Linked DNA regions of Homo sapiens: region 2 is linked to region 1. Evidence: promoter capture Hi-C in 16 types of primary human blood cells and fetal thymus (Javierre and others, 2016). All regions are on one chromosome and are shown on one strand. Each heading gives the region's core, a stretch centred on a gene start or on the middle of the fragment in contact. The rest is flanking DNA. Distances are from core to core; before and after follow the strand shown. Region 1 holds the start of CNMD (chondromodulin). Region 2 holds the start of PCDH8 (protocadherin 8).

The links. The method cuts DNA at HindIII sites, captures the fragments that hold promoters and counts their contacts. A CHiCAGO score of 5 or more calls a contact.
Region 2: the fragment with the promoter of PCDH8 here is called in contact with the fragment with the promoter of CNMD in region 1 in 2 of 17 cell types (endothelial precursors and erythroblasts); the score reaches 6.7 in endothelial precursors.

What each region holds. Positions count from the first base shown.
Region 1 is chr13:52,735,436-52,742,601 of GRCh38, reverse strand. CNMD (chondromodulin) reads left to right here and starts at 2,782. Exons shown (of 7, transcript NM_007015.3): 1 at 2,782-2,972; 2 at 3,431-3,571. The coding sequence starts at 2,901. RefSeq lists an enhancer at 4,711-5,212. The HindIII fragment of the contact is 4,345 bases long and covers 59-4,403 here.
Region 2 is chr13:52,844,966-52,852,131 of GRCh38, reverse strand. PCDH8 (protocadherin 8) reads left to right here and starts at 3,492. Exons shown (of 3, transcript NM_002590.4): 1 at 3,492-6,326; 2 at 6,500-6,707. The coding sequence starts at 3,696. RefSeq lists enhancers at 580-789, 1,464-1,758, 3,104-3,398, 3,529-4,418, 4,419-5,307. The HindIII fragment of the contact is 1,116 bases long and covers 2,767-3,882 here.

The sequences.
Region 1 (7,166 bases), core at 1,533-4,032:
CAAAACATTTCAGAAGGTTCACAGTTAAGCATCTTCTTTCTACTGGTCTCCCCAAGCTTCACATTTTCCTCAGAGGCAACCCCCACTACCAGCATCTTATCTTTCCAGAAAGCATATACTTACATTTATTCTTGTTTGTATTTCTTTATACAAATGGAAGCATTTCTACGCATTTTCTACCTTTTGCTTTTTTCACTTGAAGTATCTTAGAGAGTGTTCTATCTACATCACTACATCCAAAGCTGCCTCATTCTTTTAAAGGGCTGCCAAACCCCCACGGTGAGAATGGATCATAAATTGTCTACTCTGGACATTGAGTATATTACTAGTGCTTTGTTCTAACAAACATGCTGCAGTGAGCATCGTTGCACCTGCAGGATTTTTCCACCCTTGTGAGTGCATCTGTAGGATAAATCCATAGAAATGAAACTGCATTTTGCATTTTGGAATTAAATTGTTCTCCATAGAAGTTGTACCAATTCACCCACTACAGTAGTCCATAAATTCACTGCCCCTCATATTTTTCAACAGATTGTTTTAACAAGCGTTTTTATGTTTTTCCAGTCTCATAGGTGAACCAGTCTACTTTTAATTTGCATTTCCTTGTATGAATGCAGTTGTGGCCAGGCGTGGTGGCTCATGCCTGTAATCCCAGCATTTTGGAAGGTCAAGGTGGGCGGATCACTTGATGTCAGGAGTTCGAGACCAGCCTGGCGAACGTGGTGAAACCCTGCCTCTATTAAAAATAGAAAAATTAGTCAGGCATGGTGGCTGGCGCCTGTAATACCAGCCACTTGGGAGGCTGAGGCAGGAGAACCACTTGAACCTGGGAGGTGGAGGTTGCAGTGAGCCAAAATCGCACCACTGCACTCCAGCCTGGGCGATAGAGCAAGACTCTGTCTCAAAAAAAAAAAAAAAAAAAAAAAAAAAAAGGCAAAATAATGCTGTTGTTCATTCTTCTTACATTTAAGAGAAATTTCTACTTCTTGCTTCACCAACTCTCTGTTTCCATTCTTTGCCATTTTTTCTACTACATTTTTGGTCTTTTGGTTTTCCTAGGAAAACACTATATAAGAAAACTAGTTCCTTGTCTGTGGTATAAGTTGCAAATATTTTTAATCACTCTGTAACCCTTTGCAATGTGTCTTCTGTGCCCAGGGAAGCAAATGGAACTACTCTCTCGCTGGTTCCCATGGCCTCTTGGTTGTGCCCTTCCAAGGCCTTTCTCTGTGCTCATTTTTTTTCAGCATTTGACACTGCTGACCCACCCTTCTTGAATGTGCCTTTAAAATTACATGTACTACTTTATATTGTACCATCTCCCACCTCTCTGACAGTTACTTCTCTTATTCCTTCACCAAAATTCCTGTGAAGAATGCCCTTGTGAAAAGAGGTCTTTGAACTCTGCCTCAGCAGTGCCCCAGGGATGAGCCCTGGCTGGAGATCTTGCTGGAGTTTTTTCCAAGCACCTTAAGTCTAGTGTGATGTGCAGACAGCTGTTTCCATAGCTGATTCCAATGCAGGCTCAGGACATTTCCTTGGCTCTTTTACTTTTCATCCCCACATCAAGCTCAACATGTCTAAAACTGTTTCTTCCAATTTTTTCACTTCCCTAGGGTTCCTATCACTCTCCCAATCCTCCTAGGTCTGAAAACTCAGTTCCCACAGCCCAGGAATTGCCAAGTCCTATCGATTCTTCTGTGAAAGTGGTCTCCTCCACTTCTCCCCTCCTTCCCAGCCCCAGGTCATCATGCTTGTCACCTCATTCTTCATCACATGTCTTGGATGATTCTTCAACACTTTCTCCTTCTGCAGTCCTGCACATGCAATCTCCCGCTGCCCTTTGGGGAAGCCTCAATCCCTCTCATGCACTAGTGCTCCTCACTTACACCTCACCAGAGAGCTCTGCACAAAGCTAGAATCGAACGCAATTTAAGGAAGCCTGGATCCAAATGAAGTACCATGTATCCTGGAACTGGAAGATGGCATTTCCAAAAGTGAAAATTTTATATACATACATACATACACACACACACACACACACACACACACATTTGTGTTATTCCTTTGGATACATCAGTACTCTGTGTGTGTGTGTGTGTGTGTGTGTGTGCTTTGCCATTGTTGCTTTTGTTTGCACTTATTTAATTTATTCAACCAACCAGCATGCACTTTTATTCTGGTCTCCCCAACTCCTTCCCTCCAGCCCTGCTCTGCTTAGCTCTCACTTTTGCTGCAGTTGTACCCAGACCCTAGAAAAACTGGTGGCAAGGAGCCATCCCTAAGACCCTGCTCTGTTTTCCAGTCCCAGGGGCCATCCAGCAATGCCAGGCCAGTGAGAAGGTGGCCTAACCCTTACACTCTTAGGCCAGTGTCCCCTGTCCACCTGCACCACTCTGTTGTCTTCTCCTTCACCTTCCATGAGCCATCTTCCCCCCACCCCCACCCCAACACACACCTACAAAGACCCTGCAGGAAATGGCCTCCAGCCAGTTGTCACAGCAGAGCCCGCTGACATTCTAAGACATCCTCCGGTGCATGGCTAATTGCTCTGGCACTTGAGTATTTCTTTGGGTCCCAGGATTCAGCATCCCGCTCTGAGGGATGCAACCACCCCCACACATTCAGAGTCACCGGGATGCTGTTTGGGGGGCCAGTAGACAGGATAGAGTGAGGAGGAAAGGGGGCATCCGGGAGTGCAGGACGAGCTTCCCGCGGCGGGAGAGAGAAGGGAGGAGAGAGGTGAGGCGCTGGAAGGGGTGGGGACCGCTGGGCTGGCCCAGGCGGGACCGTGCACCGTGTGTGCGCGCGGCGTTGAAATGCCCTGCACGTCGGGGCAGCGGGACAGATCCCAGGGTGCCCAGGGAGTCTCCAAGTGCCTCACTCCTCCCGCCGCAAACATGACAGAGAACTCCGACAAAGTTCCCATTGCCCTGGTGGGACCTGATGACGTGGAATTCTGCAGCCCCCCGGTGAGTACCGCCAGGGATTCCACACGCAGGGCCTGGGTTGTGTGAGTATCAGGTTCCACAGTTCGGACTCAGGGGTGCGTGCCACCGAATGGGTGTGTTGGCGGGGGGATAAATTTGGGTCCCAAATGTGTGGGTGGGATGTCGCCCCACGCGTATGAGTGTGCAGGGGTCACGGCATCCACAGGCGGGTGCGGAGGGACGTCCCGTGGCCGGTAGAGGGTGCAGGTCCTGGGGCGAAGGCCCTGTGCTGCGGGGTTTGCTCATCCCACTTCCACGCCCGACTGCAAAGGACCCTCGGGAGGGAGCGCGGCGAAAGGGGCACCCGTAGGAGCCCGGGCGAGCTGTTTCCCGCCCGACTCCCCACTCCCTGGGGGCTACCGCGTGGGGCCCGGGTGCGCTGGGGGCCGCAGGTGCTGGCGGCACAAACGCGACGGTCCCTCTCCCGCCCCGGCCCGCAGGCGTACGCTACGCTGACGGTGAAGCCCTCCAGCCCCGCGCGGCTGCTCAAGGTGGGAGCCGTGGTCCTCATTTCGGGAGCTGTGCTGCTGCTCTTTGGGGCCATCGGGGCCTTCTACTTCTGGAAGGGGAGCGACAGTCACGTAAGTCCAGAGGGCGGCGCGCGGGGACCCCCGTGTCGCCCATGGTGCCCCTAGGGGGAGCCCGAGCGCGGGCCGGCGAGGGGCGCGCGGCTGCCGGCGGGCCCCTCGGGCCCAGCGTGAGCTCCCCTCTCCCATCCCACTCTGGCACGCGGCTTTCCGCCTTAGGTCAACGTTGTAGAAAAGCAAGTGAAGGTTTCACGGGAGAAGATTGAAGCGTAGAGTAGGGGAGAATGTAGTGGACGGTCCGAGAAAGGCCGTTCTCGGCTCATCTCCCACTAAGCAGTGGCGCGACCGTGGGGAAGGCACGTCACCTTTTGGCCTCAGTGTACTCGTCCTGAAGGGAAAAAATGGAACTGGACGATCTCTAAGGCCTGTCCCTGCTAAGAAAGGCTGTGGGTTTAAAATCCAGGACAAAGATAGTGGAGGAATATTCAGACCCATATTCAGACCCATTGGGAAGGAATTTTTGCCTTTCAGAAGGTTTTTTTGTGACCTAGCCATGAACATTCCCTTCTCTCTCTGGAAAACAAAAACAAAAAACAAACAAACAAACAAAACGTCTAACTTCCTTAAAGGTGGAAAATCTCTTTAACAATTAATTCTGGCCTAGTCATCACATGTGGTTTAATAGTAGGTGTTTTACTAACTGCTGTCCTACTTTCTTTGTATGCAACTATTTATTTTAAAGCTCCACGGCTCTCGAGGAGTATAAAGACTGTTTCTAAGTTGACTGGGCAGAGCTCCAGTGTGTTCTCTAAATACTCTGAAAGTGTTCACCTATGTAAAAGGGGGCATTTTATCTTGATGACCACTGCCAGGTCTGGTATAAGCTTATTTCAACTAATGGAAAAGAATTCCATCTCCAGGGCACACACAAAGGGCTCTTTCATAATCACTATCCTCAGAGGATTGGTGATTGCTGTTTTTTCCTCTCTCCTACCATGAAATGCAAAGCATGAACGAATTCCAGTACTTACAGAAAATGGTGCTGAAAGCAATTCAACCATTTTACACATCACGTCTTCTGCAGTCACTGCATAATTTGTATTTTTAACTCAAATGTCTAATGTAGATAAGCATGCCATTTAGCACCGAGTCTGTTTTAGAGACTATATCAAATTTACAAGCATCGATTTGTAAGATCAGAATTGCACTGTATTTTGTGGGTATTTGAAAAGTGCCTTAATGTATTTGTATTTTAAATATAGAAGCTGGGCCAGATGCTCATGTTTGAAACAGCAAATGTGAATAAGAGAATGATTTCAATATCTACATCTCCATTAATAGCAGGGTTTAGATTGTCATCTCTTTGGGAAATTCTGTGGTTTTAGAATGTAAATGCTATCTTTTAAATAACAAAGCCTCAATGGTATAGGTCAATGGGGGATAACAATAGCTATGCTTTTTTTTGGTAAAGATTCTGGACATGATATATTTTAAAATGAATACCATTTGTCATTTAATTATTCAAGGTAAACATCACTAACTGACAGGCTTCTAAAAAGAGAGATTAAACAATCATACTGAATAAGCACAGCTCCCTTTTTTCATATATTTTACTTTACTGCAAGATGGTTGGTTGTCTGGTTCAGGAGAGCAGTATTAAATGCTAAGAATTCAGAGGAATAGTGAATCACATTTTATTGTCAACAATCAAAATTATTGCTATATCCTATACAGACAGGAGAATGAAGAAAATCATGATAGTTTTTTTCTCCCTGATCCATATGACTTAAGTATGAAAAACAAATCACAAAATACTAAATAGAGTAATTTTTGCACCACCTAGGCATAGCACATGCACAGGTCTGCTTTGCCTGAATACAAATCTAAATAGCTCAGACAAAACGTAATCAAAAAAGGTAAGTCTTTGTCAAACAGAAAGACTTGTCAAACCAAATGGATTATCCACTCTTTGGGGATTATCTGTGCCTCGGCTCCTCTATATTGGTTTATAGAGGAGAACCAGCTGTAATTCACCTCCTATCCTTTTCATGTGGGTAAATCCCCTTAGGACAGGTTTACTGAAATTTAGCTGGAGGACTATGAAGCACTGGAGTAATAATAATCAGGGGACAACTGAACTGGGCTCCAATATTGAGGCCATTTTTCATCCACATTATTGTAAATGGAACAAGGCATTGAAATATGGGAAATTTCCACCAATATGAGATAACTGACAACCCCACCCTGTGAGATGAGGGAAGGAGATCATTGCTTGGGGCCTTTCCTCTCAGACTAATTTTTCTAGACATTTTCCCAAACATTATGTAATTAATCTTATAGAACATAGGCCTTATTAAAAACTCATTAGCAAATATCCTTGGCTGTAAAAGGCACCATATTGAGCAGAATTTTGGCAAATAATAAATTTCATCTTGTTTGGATAAAAATAGCCTTGGGTGTCCACAGCTCCACGGACTTAGAGCAGATAAGGTAATTGCTGCTCCAACAGCCCAGCCTCGTCCCCAGCTCAGAGTCTAGTATGTTAGAAACTGGACTGCCTCCTCCCCCCACATCCTCCCCTAGTAGCTTCAGGAGGGGGACAGCTTCACTGCTGTCCCCATGCAGATGGTGCAGTGCACATAAAAGGTGGGCTGCAGGCCAGGCGTGGTGGCTCACGTCTGTAATCCCAGCACTTTGGGAGGCCAAGGCAGGAGGATCACTTGAGGTCAGGAGTTCAAGACCAGCCTGGCCAGCATGGTGAAATCCCATCTCTACTAAAAATGCAAATAAAGGCCGGGCGCGGTGGCTCACGCCTGTAATCCCAGCACTTCGGGAGGCCGAGGCGGGCGGCTCACGAGGTCAGGAGATGGAGACCATCCTGGCTAACACAGTGAAACCCTGTCTCTACTAAAAATACAAAAAAATTAGCTGGGCCTGGTGGCGGGCACCTGCAGTCCCAGCTACCTGGGAGGCTGAGGCAGGAGAATGGTGTGAACCCAGGAGGCGGAGCTTGCAGTGAGTGGAGATTGTGCCACTGCACTCCAGCCTGGGCGACAGAGCAAGACTCCGTCTCAAAAAAAAAAAAAAATTAGCTGGGCGTGGTGGCGCATGCCTGTAGTCCCAGCTCCCTGGGAGGCTGAGGCAGGAGAATGGCTTGAACCTGGGAGGCGGAGGTTGCAGTGAGTCGAGATTGTGCCACTGCACCCCAGCTTGGGTGACAGAGCAAGACTCCATCTCAAAAAAAAAAAAAAAAAAAAGGTGGGCCGCAGCTGCACAACCAAGATGCCCTACGTCAAGCTTGTCCAATCTGTGGTCCTGCATGCGGCCCAGGGCGGTTTTGAATACAACCCAACACAAATTCGTAAACTTTCTTAAAACATTATGAGATTTTTTTTTTTTTTTAGATTTTTTTTAAAAATTCATCAGCTATCGTTAGTGTTAGTGTATTTTATGTGTGGTCCAAGACAATTCTTCTTCCATTGTGGCCCAGGGAAGCCAAAAGATTGGCTATCCCTGCACCTAGTTAGGGAGGCTTTCTGGGGAGAAGACAGCCAGGGGTAGTGGTGGAGGAATGTGAAATTCAAACCACAGGCCACTCTTCTAGTGTGACAACCTTATCTCCTTAAGAACTGCTAAGAATTTAGAAATG
Region 2 (7,166 bases), core at 2,243-4,742, 110 kb before region 1:
AAAAAAAAAAGTAAAAGTTTAAAAAATAACCCCTCTTCATCCATCCTTAGAATTACACTTTCCAGTGAAGTCTAGTACCCTTTCCTGGTAGATATAATCCTAATTAAAAATAAATTACATGCTGTATAGAACTTGAAATGGACAAGATAATCCTATTACATATGAGAATATATCCTGATTTTCTTTCCCGCTAAACTGTGGGAGATATCAGATCAGTCTGAGCCCCCCATTGTCGCCTCTTTGAAAACTTTCCTGGAGCCCTAATCCATCACGTGACGCCCATGTCAATCTTGGTGTTTGCACGCGAGTTTCACAATGCCGGCATTAGGCTCGGTAACAGAAACCCAGCTTTGCGGAGCCCGCAACATTTGCATTCCGAGAAAACGCCGGCCATTGTGGAGCTGTGTTTGTTCTCAAGATTGCGAGACAGTTGCCGGCGAAGTTGCTAAAACCGAGAGAAAGGGGCTCCTTTGGGCCTGCCCAGACCTTTTGGTATGATAACAAGGCGATTCGAGCGGCTTTTGTGAGGCCTGATCAGCACCCGGGCGGGCGAGCTCCCCTCCCTTTCCCCTACTCCTCTCCAGCGCCACCTCCCCGGACATATTTTCCTTCCCGGGGAGTTGCTGCGGACGTTGATGTGCTATTTTAAATCGTATTTCCATAATCGAGTGGCTGTCCGCTGCCGGCCCGGAGCTCACGGTGTTCGCGTGCCTTCACACCTCCACCGCCGGCACGGAAAGACCTGTGCGCGCCGGTGGCGGCTGGAGGCTCGCGGCTCCCTTCCCGGGCTCCCCGGCTCCCAGCTCTCAGCCTCCCGGCGCCGCCGCCGTCGTGGCTACTTCCGATCGACGAGGGCCTGGCCGCGGAAAAAACACTTTAGACCTGCTACCAGCCACCCTACACCCCTCCTCCCGCCTCCTGGCTTTTGCCTGCCCCTACTCCCCTTTCCTTTTCCCACTTTCAAGCACGCCTTGGTTTATTTCAGCCTTGAGAATGAGCATGCTGACGCGGAAGCACTTTGAGTAGAAATTGCAAGTAGTTCCGAATCTCTGGCCAAGCGAAAAACCCAAACTTAGCGCGTGGCGGGGCTCCCGAGTCCAGCCCAGAACTGCGGGGTGCAGATGCGCAGGGGGCGCTGGCGCGAGGTCCGGGTCCCAGCCATTCGCGGCCGGGCTGTGCTCGCGGAAACCGCTGAAATCCCTTCCTTTGGGACTCCGGCCCCATTTCCACCCACTTTCCCCACCTTCCGGGTCCTCCGCCCGGCAGCAGCAGCGCCAGGCGGGCCTGACCTTGCCCTGGGTACGCCAGCGGAAGCGCTGAGGCCGCTGTCCACCAGCCAAGTTCTGAACCTGTTCCCGTCTGGGTCTCCGGGGGAAGAGGGGTGAGGAGAGATGACGTTAGCCTAGGGGCGCTAAAGGTCACCAGCCAGCCCCAGGTTGGGGTGGGAGTGTTGCGGGGCTCGGAAGGAAAATAGAAAGTTCCTTCGACTGCGTGTACCCCCCAAGGAATATCTCTTGGGCGGGGACGGTGGGAGGGCTACATACTAAATCGCACTTGGGAGATGGAAGACAGCGGAAGAAAGGGCTGCGATTTGGGCTCCTGTAGGGGGCGCTCCTCCTTCCACGTCCCCACGCGGCTGCAGATGCCTGGCCTTATTGCTTTTAGCATTCCCAAGACTACAAGGTGGAAGAGGTGGAGAAGGGAACCCAGAGACACACCCCTCTGAGGAAGTCTCCAGCCACTCATCATCCCCCTCCCCAGTCTTATAAGAGCTTGTATTTATGGATGGCTGGAGCTGCATGTTCCGCTCTCTGACAATTCCAAGCACCTCTCATCCCTGCCACCCAGCTCCCTGCTTGGTCTCCCTACTCCAAGGAAACTCCTGACCCTCTTCTGAAAAAAAACCCAAAACACACTCCCTCGAGTTTGAGGGAAAGGAAAACATGGATAGGACGCTGACAGCAGGACCAAAATCGGGATTCTGAAGAATGTTTACTGAATTCAATCTACTTACCAAACCTATCGCCTAAAAAGAAAAATTTCTTCCAGTGAGTGGCTTTTGTTTTTTACCTTTCCTCCTTCGTGTGTATTTGCATAGCCTGCTCAATAAAGCCCTTCAGTAAGAATCATTAAGAATCCGTCTTGTTGCAGATCCGAGCTCCATCTCCCTGGCCGTCAGGGATGGGAGGGGGCTATCTGTGGGGCAGCGCAGCGCCCGGCCAGCCCCAGGATCCGCCCAGCCCAGATTTTGGCAGTGCCGAAGCTCCACACTTTCCTAAGCAGATGGTTAAGTTCCCCCCACGTTCCTGCCAGGTTTCAACGTCACGCTGTGATTTTGTTCTTCTGGAACCGGACGAGTGTTGCTTCCCAGAGTGGCCCTATTAGAACAGAAAGAAAATCCTCTAAATAGGCGGAACAAGGCATCAGGAGGAAAAAGTTCTCTAAATGCACTTTAATACGAGCCGGGTATTGTGTGGAATTCAGCGCCCATCACCGTTTAGCCGGAGAGTTATGGCAGTGATTGGGGATGAATAGAGGAACATAATGGATACATGTGGCGTTTGCTCATTATATTCAAGTTAGTCCAACTCCGCTGTGGAAACTGTTCAACTTTCTCTCCCCTTAGCTTGTCACAGTGAAATAATACAGACATTGGGGCCTCCAATGGGATCGCCTGCCACACCATTCTATTTCCACTGCTAACGAGGGCTTCATAAGCCTTTGATACAGTCTGATCTTTGAAACCTTTCCAAATCTCCTCAAGCTTATGCTAAATCCTATTTGGAACTTTTTTTTCCTTGCCTGCTAGCTCCCAGGGCTTAAGAAGGCCACTTGGACAGTGACGTGCATACTAACATATCGCGGGGCTCTTTTCTGAAAGGGAAGTGGCAGCTCTGATCACTGGGGCTCACACGAGCAAAACACAATTGAGTACACAAATTTGAATAAAATCAATTTTCCCTTATCCTTCAGGCTTCTTAATCGAGAGGCTATTCCAGGCACCGTAGCTAGGAGAGAAGGAAAGCAGAGCCTCATTCAGCAGAGCAAGTCTGTGGGTAGGGGGCTGCAAGGGTTTGGAAGCGTCAGAGGTGCAAAATGCAGAGTGTGTGTGTTGGCAGGGGCTGGGGGAAGGCGGAATCAGGAGCCACTGGGGTGAAACCCCAGCGTGTTCGCACTTAGTTCTAGCCGCGGCACGGAGGGAGGCAGGCGACAATTAACAAAACCATCCGCTCCTTTTACTCCTGGAGCCCTGTGCCAACTCCTCTACATGCAGGGTGCTGACAAGAAAAGGGGGAAAAAGCAAAAGGAGTTAAACAAAAGAAAGATTCCCTAATTTTCCTTTCTTGTTTTCCCCTCTAAGCCTTTCCACATTAAAGGGATTGTCAGAGGCAGGCGGAGGGGCGACGCGAGGGGGAGGCGGCCATTGGCTACCCGGCTCGGGTGATTAGCATATCGGCGGCTATAAAGGCAAAGGCGGCGCGAGGCGGCGCAGCTTCTGTAAGAGACGGAGAGGCGCAGAGTGAGGGCGGGTCCGCGCGTCCTCAGAGCCCGCTGGAGGCTCGGAGCTGCTACCCGCAGACTTCTCCCGCACAGGGCTCGCAAAGAGCGTGATTCCGAGAGCCTGAGACTGACGCCCGACCTGGAAACCAGAGAAGACTTCCTTAGCCTTTCGGATCGCACTTGAGGCTGGAGGCATGAGTCCTGTGAGGCGTTGGGGCAGCCCCTGCCTTTTCCCCTTGCAGCTCTTCAGCCTCTGCTGGGTGCTCTCAGTGGCCCAGAGCAAAACAGTCCGATACAGCACCTTCGAGGAGGATGCCCCCGGCACGGTCATCGGGACCCTGGCCGAGGACCTGCATATGAAAGTATCGGGTGACACAAGCTTCCGCCTGATGAAGCAATTCAACAGCTCTCTGCTCCGGGTGCGCGAAGGCGACGGGCAGCTGACCGTCGGGGACGCCGGCCTGGACCGCGAGCGGCTGTGTGGCCAGGCCCCGCAGTGCGTGCTGGCCTTCGATGTGGTCAGCTTCTCGCAGGAGCAGTTCCGGCTGGTGCACGTGGAGGTAGAGGTGAGGGACGTCAACGACCACGCGCCGCGCTTCCCCAGGGCCCAGATCCCGGTAGAGGTGTCCGAGGGTGCGGCAGTGGGCACGCGCATCCCCTTGGAGGTGCCGGTGGACGAGGACGTGGGCGCCAACGGGCTGCAGACCGTGCGCCTGGCCGAGCCGCACAGCCCCTTTCGCGTGGAGCTGCAGACGCGAGCGGACGGCGCTCAGTGCGCAGACCTGGTGCTGCTGCAGGAGCTGGACCGCGAGAGCCAGGCCGCCTACAGCCTGGAGCTGGTGGCCCAGGACGGCGGCCGCCCGCCGCGCTCCGCCACGGCTGCCCTCAGCGTGCGCGTCCTGGATGCGAATGACCACAGCCCGGCCTTCCCGCAGGGCGCCGTGGCCGAAGTGGAGCTGGCGGAAGACGCGCCCGTGGGCTCCCTGCTTCTCGACCTGGACGCAGCCGACCCCGACGAGGGACCTAACGGCGACGTGGTGTTCGCATTTGGCGCCCGCACCCCGCCGGAGGCGCGCCGCCTCTTTCGGCTTGACCCGCGATCAGGCCGCCTCACCCTGGCCGGGCCCGTGGACTACGAGCGTCAGGACACCTACGAGCTGGACGTGCGGGCGCAGGACCGCGGACCCGGGCCCCGCGCTGCCACCTGCAAGGTCATCGTGCGCATCCGAGACGTCAATGACAACGCACCCGACATCGCCATCACCCCGCTGGCCGCCCCAGGCGCGCCGGCAACCTCACCCTTCGCCGCTGCCGCCGCCGCCGCTGCACTCGGGGGAGCGGACGCTAGCTCGCCGGCGGGAGCCGGGACGCCGGAGGCTGGTGCCACTTCGCTGGTGCCGGAGGGGGCGGCGCGCGAGAGCCTGGTGGCCCTGGTCAGCACCTCGGACAGGGACTCGGGCGCCAACGGGCAAGTGCGCTGCGCCCTCTATGGGCACGAGCACTTCCGGCTGCAGCCGGCCTACGCGGGCAGCTACCTGGTGGTGACCGCGGCGTCGCTGGACCGCGAACGCATCGCCGAGTACAACTTGACGCTGGTGGCCGAGGATCGCGGCGCGCCCCCGCTGCGCACAGTGCGGCCCTACACGGTGCGTGTGGGCGACGAGAACGACAACGCGCCGCTCTTCACGCGGCCGGTCTATGAGGTGTCGGTGCGCGAGAACAACCCGCCAGGCGCCTACCTGGCCACGGTGGCCGCCCGCGACCGGGACCTGGGCCGCAACGGCCAGGTCACCTACCGGCTGCTGGAGGCCGAGGTGGGCCGCGCCGGGGGCGCCGTGTCCACTTATGTCTCGGTGGACCCAGCTACCGGAGCCATCTACGCGCTGCGCAGCTTCGACTATGAGACGCTGCGCCAACTCGACGTTCGCATCCAAGCTAGCGACGGCGGCTCCCCTCAGCTTTCCAGCAGCGCCCTAGTGCAAGTGCGCGTGCTGGACCAGAACGACCATGCGCCAGTCCTGGTGCACCCGGCGCCAGCCAATGGCTCCCTAGAAGTGGCGGTGCCTGGGCGCACCGCAAAGGACACGGTTGTGGCCCGTGTGCAGGCCCGGGATGCAGACGAGGGAGCCAACGGGGAGCTGGCGTTCGAGCTGCAGCAGCAGGAGCCGCGCGAAGCCTTCGCCATCGGCCGCCGCACGGGGGAGATACTGCTCACCGGCGACCTCTCGCAGGAGCCACCCGGTCGCGTGTTCAGGGCGCTCCTGGTCATATCCGACGGCGGCCGTCCCCCGCTCACCACCACCGCAACTGTCAGCTTCGTGGTAACAGCAGGGGGCGGGCGTGGGCCGGCTGCGCCTGCCAGTGCAGGAAGCCCGGAGCGTTCCCGCCCGCCTGGCTCTCGGCTCGGGGTGTCCGGGTCGGTGCTGCAATGGGACACGCCGCTGATCGTCATCATCGTGCTGGCCGGGAGCTGCACGCTGCTGCTGGCCGCCATCATCGCCATCGCCACCACCTGCAACCGCCGCAAGAAGGAGGTGCGCAAAGGGGGGGCCCTCCGGGAAGAGCGGCCCGGGGCGGCGGGCGGCGGAGCCTCGGCTCCCGGCTCCCCGGAGGAGGCCGCCCGGGGAGCCGGGCCCAGGCCCAACATGTTCGACGTGCTCACCTTCCCTGGCACCGGCAAAGCGCCCTTTGGCAGCCCCGCGGCGGACGCGCCTCCGCCTGCGGTCGCCGCGGCCGAAGTGCCGGGCTCAGAGGGCGGCAGCGCCACTGGGGAAAGCGCCTGTCACTTCGAGGGGCAGCAGCGGCTCCGCGGCGCGCACGCCGAGGTGAGGCCTTCCTTCGGCTGGGCGCCCCCCTCCGAGCTCCGCGGACAGGCTGGGGGAAGGGAGACTGGAGGGGTAGGGTGGGTGCATTCAGGTAGACAACCTGTCGCACTTGTTTTTTGTTTGTTTCTTATCCAACCCTCCCCCCACTCCCATTCCCCTATTCCCTGCTGCAGCCCTACGGTGCCTCCCCGGGTTTTGGAAAGGAGCCGGCGCCCCCTGTGGCGGTGTGGAAAGGACACTCCTTCAACACCATTTCTGGCAGAGAAGCAGAGAAGTTCAGCGGCAAAGACAGCGGTAAAGGGGACAGTGATTTCAACGACAGCGATTCCGACATCAGCGGGGACGCTCTGAAAAAGGATCTCATCAACCACATGCAGAGTGGTGAGGACTCTTCTTTCCCGCCAAATTCGGCATTCCTCCCTTCCCTCCCCTTCACCACTGTTTGCCTCCTCTCAATCTCGGTTCCCAGCCCCCTTCCCTCTTCCCCACTTTTTCTCACTCCTACAGCTGCGGATACGGGCCTGCCTCACACGGTGAATTTCAAAATGCCAAGTCGAGGCAACTCCAGCTCTTGAATAAAACACACCCTCATCCTGTTAGGCAGCAGCATGGGTGATGCTAGCCATTAAAAAGTGGGTTCTGCTTATCAATTTTTTTTTTCACTTCCAGCTGAAGAAGCTGGACCAGCTTTGCATTAAGATGGCTTTACAGGAAGCAATGTGCCTTCGATTCTTGAGACACGGTGTATATCTATGCGCACAGCCTTTCCTTTCAGCTGCCCTGACCCAGGCTGACATGCTGAAGATGGAAGCCTGAATATGTATAATCTCAGGAATAATC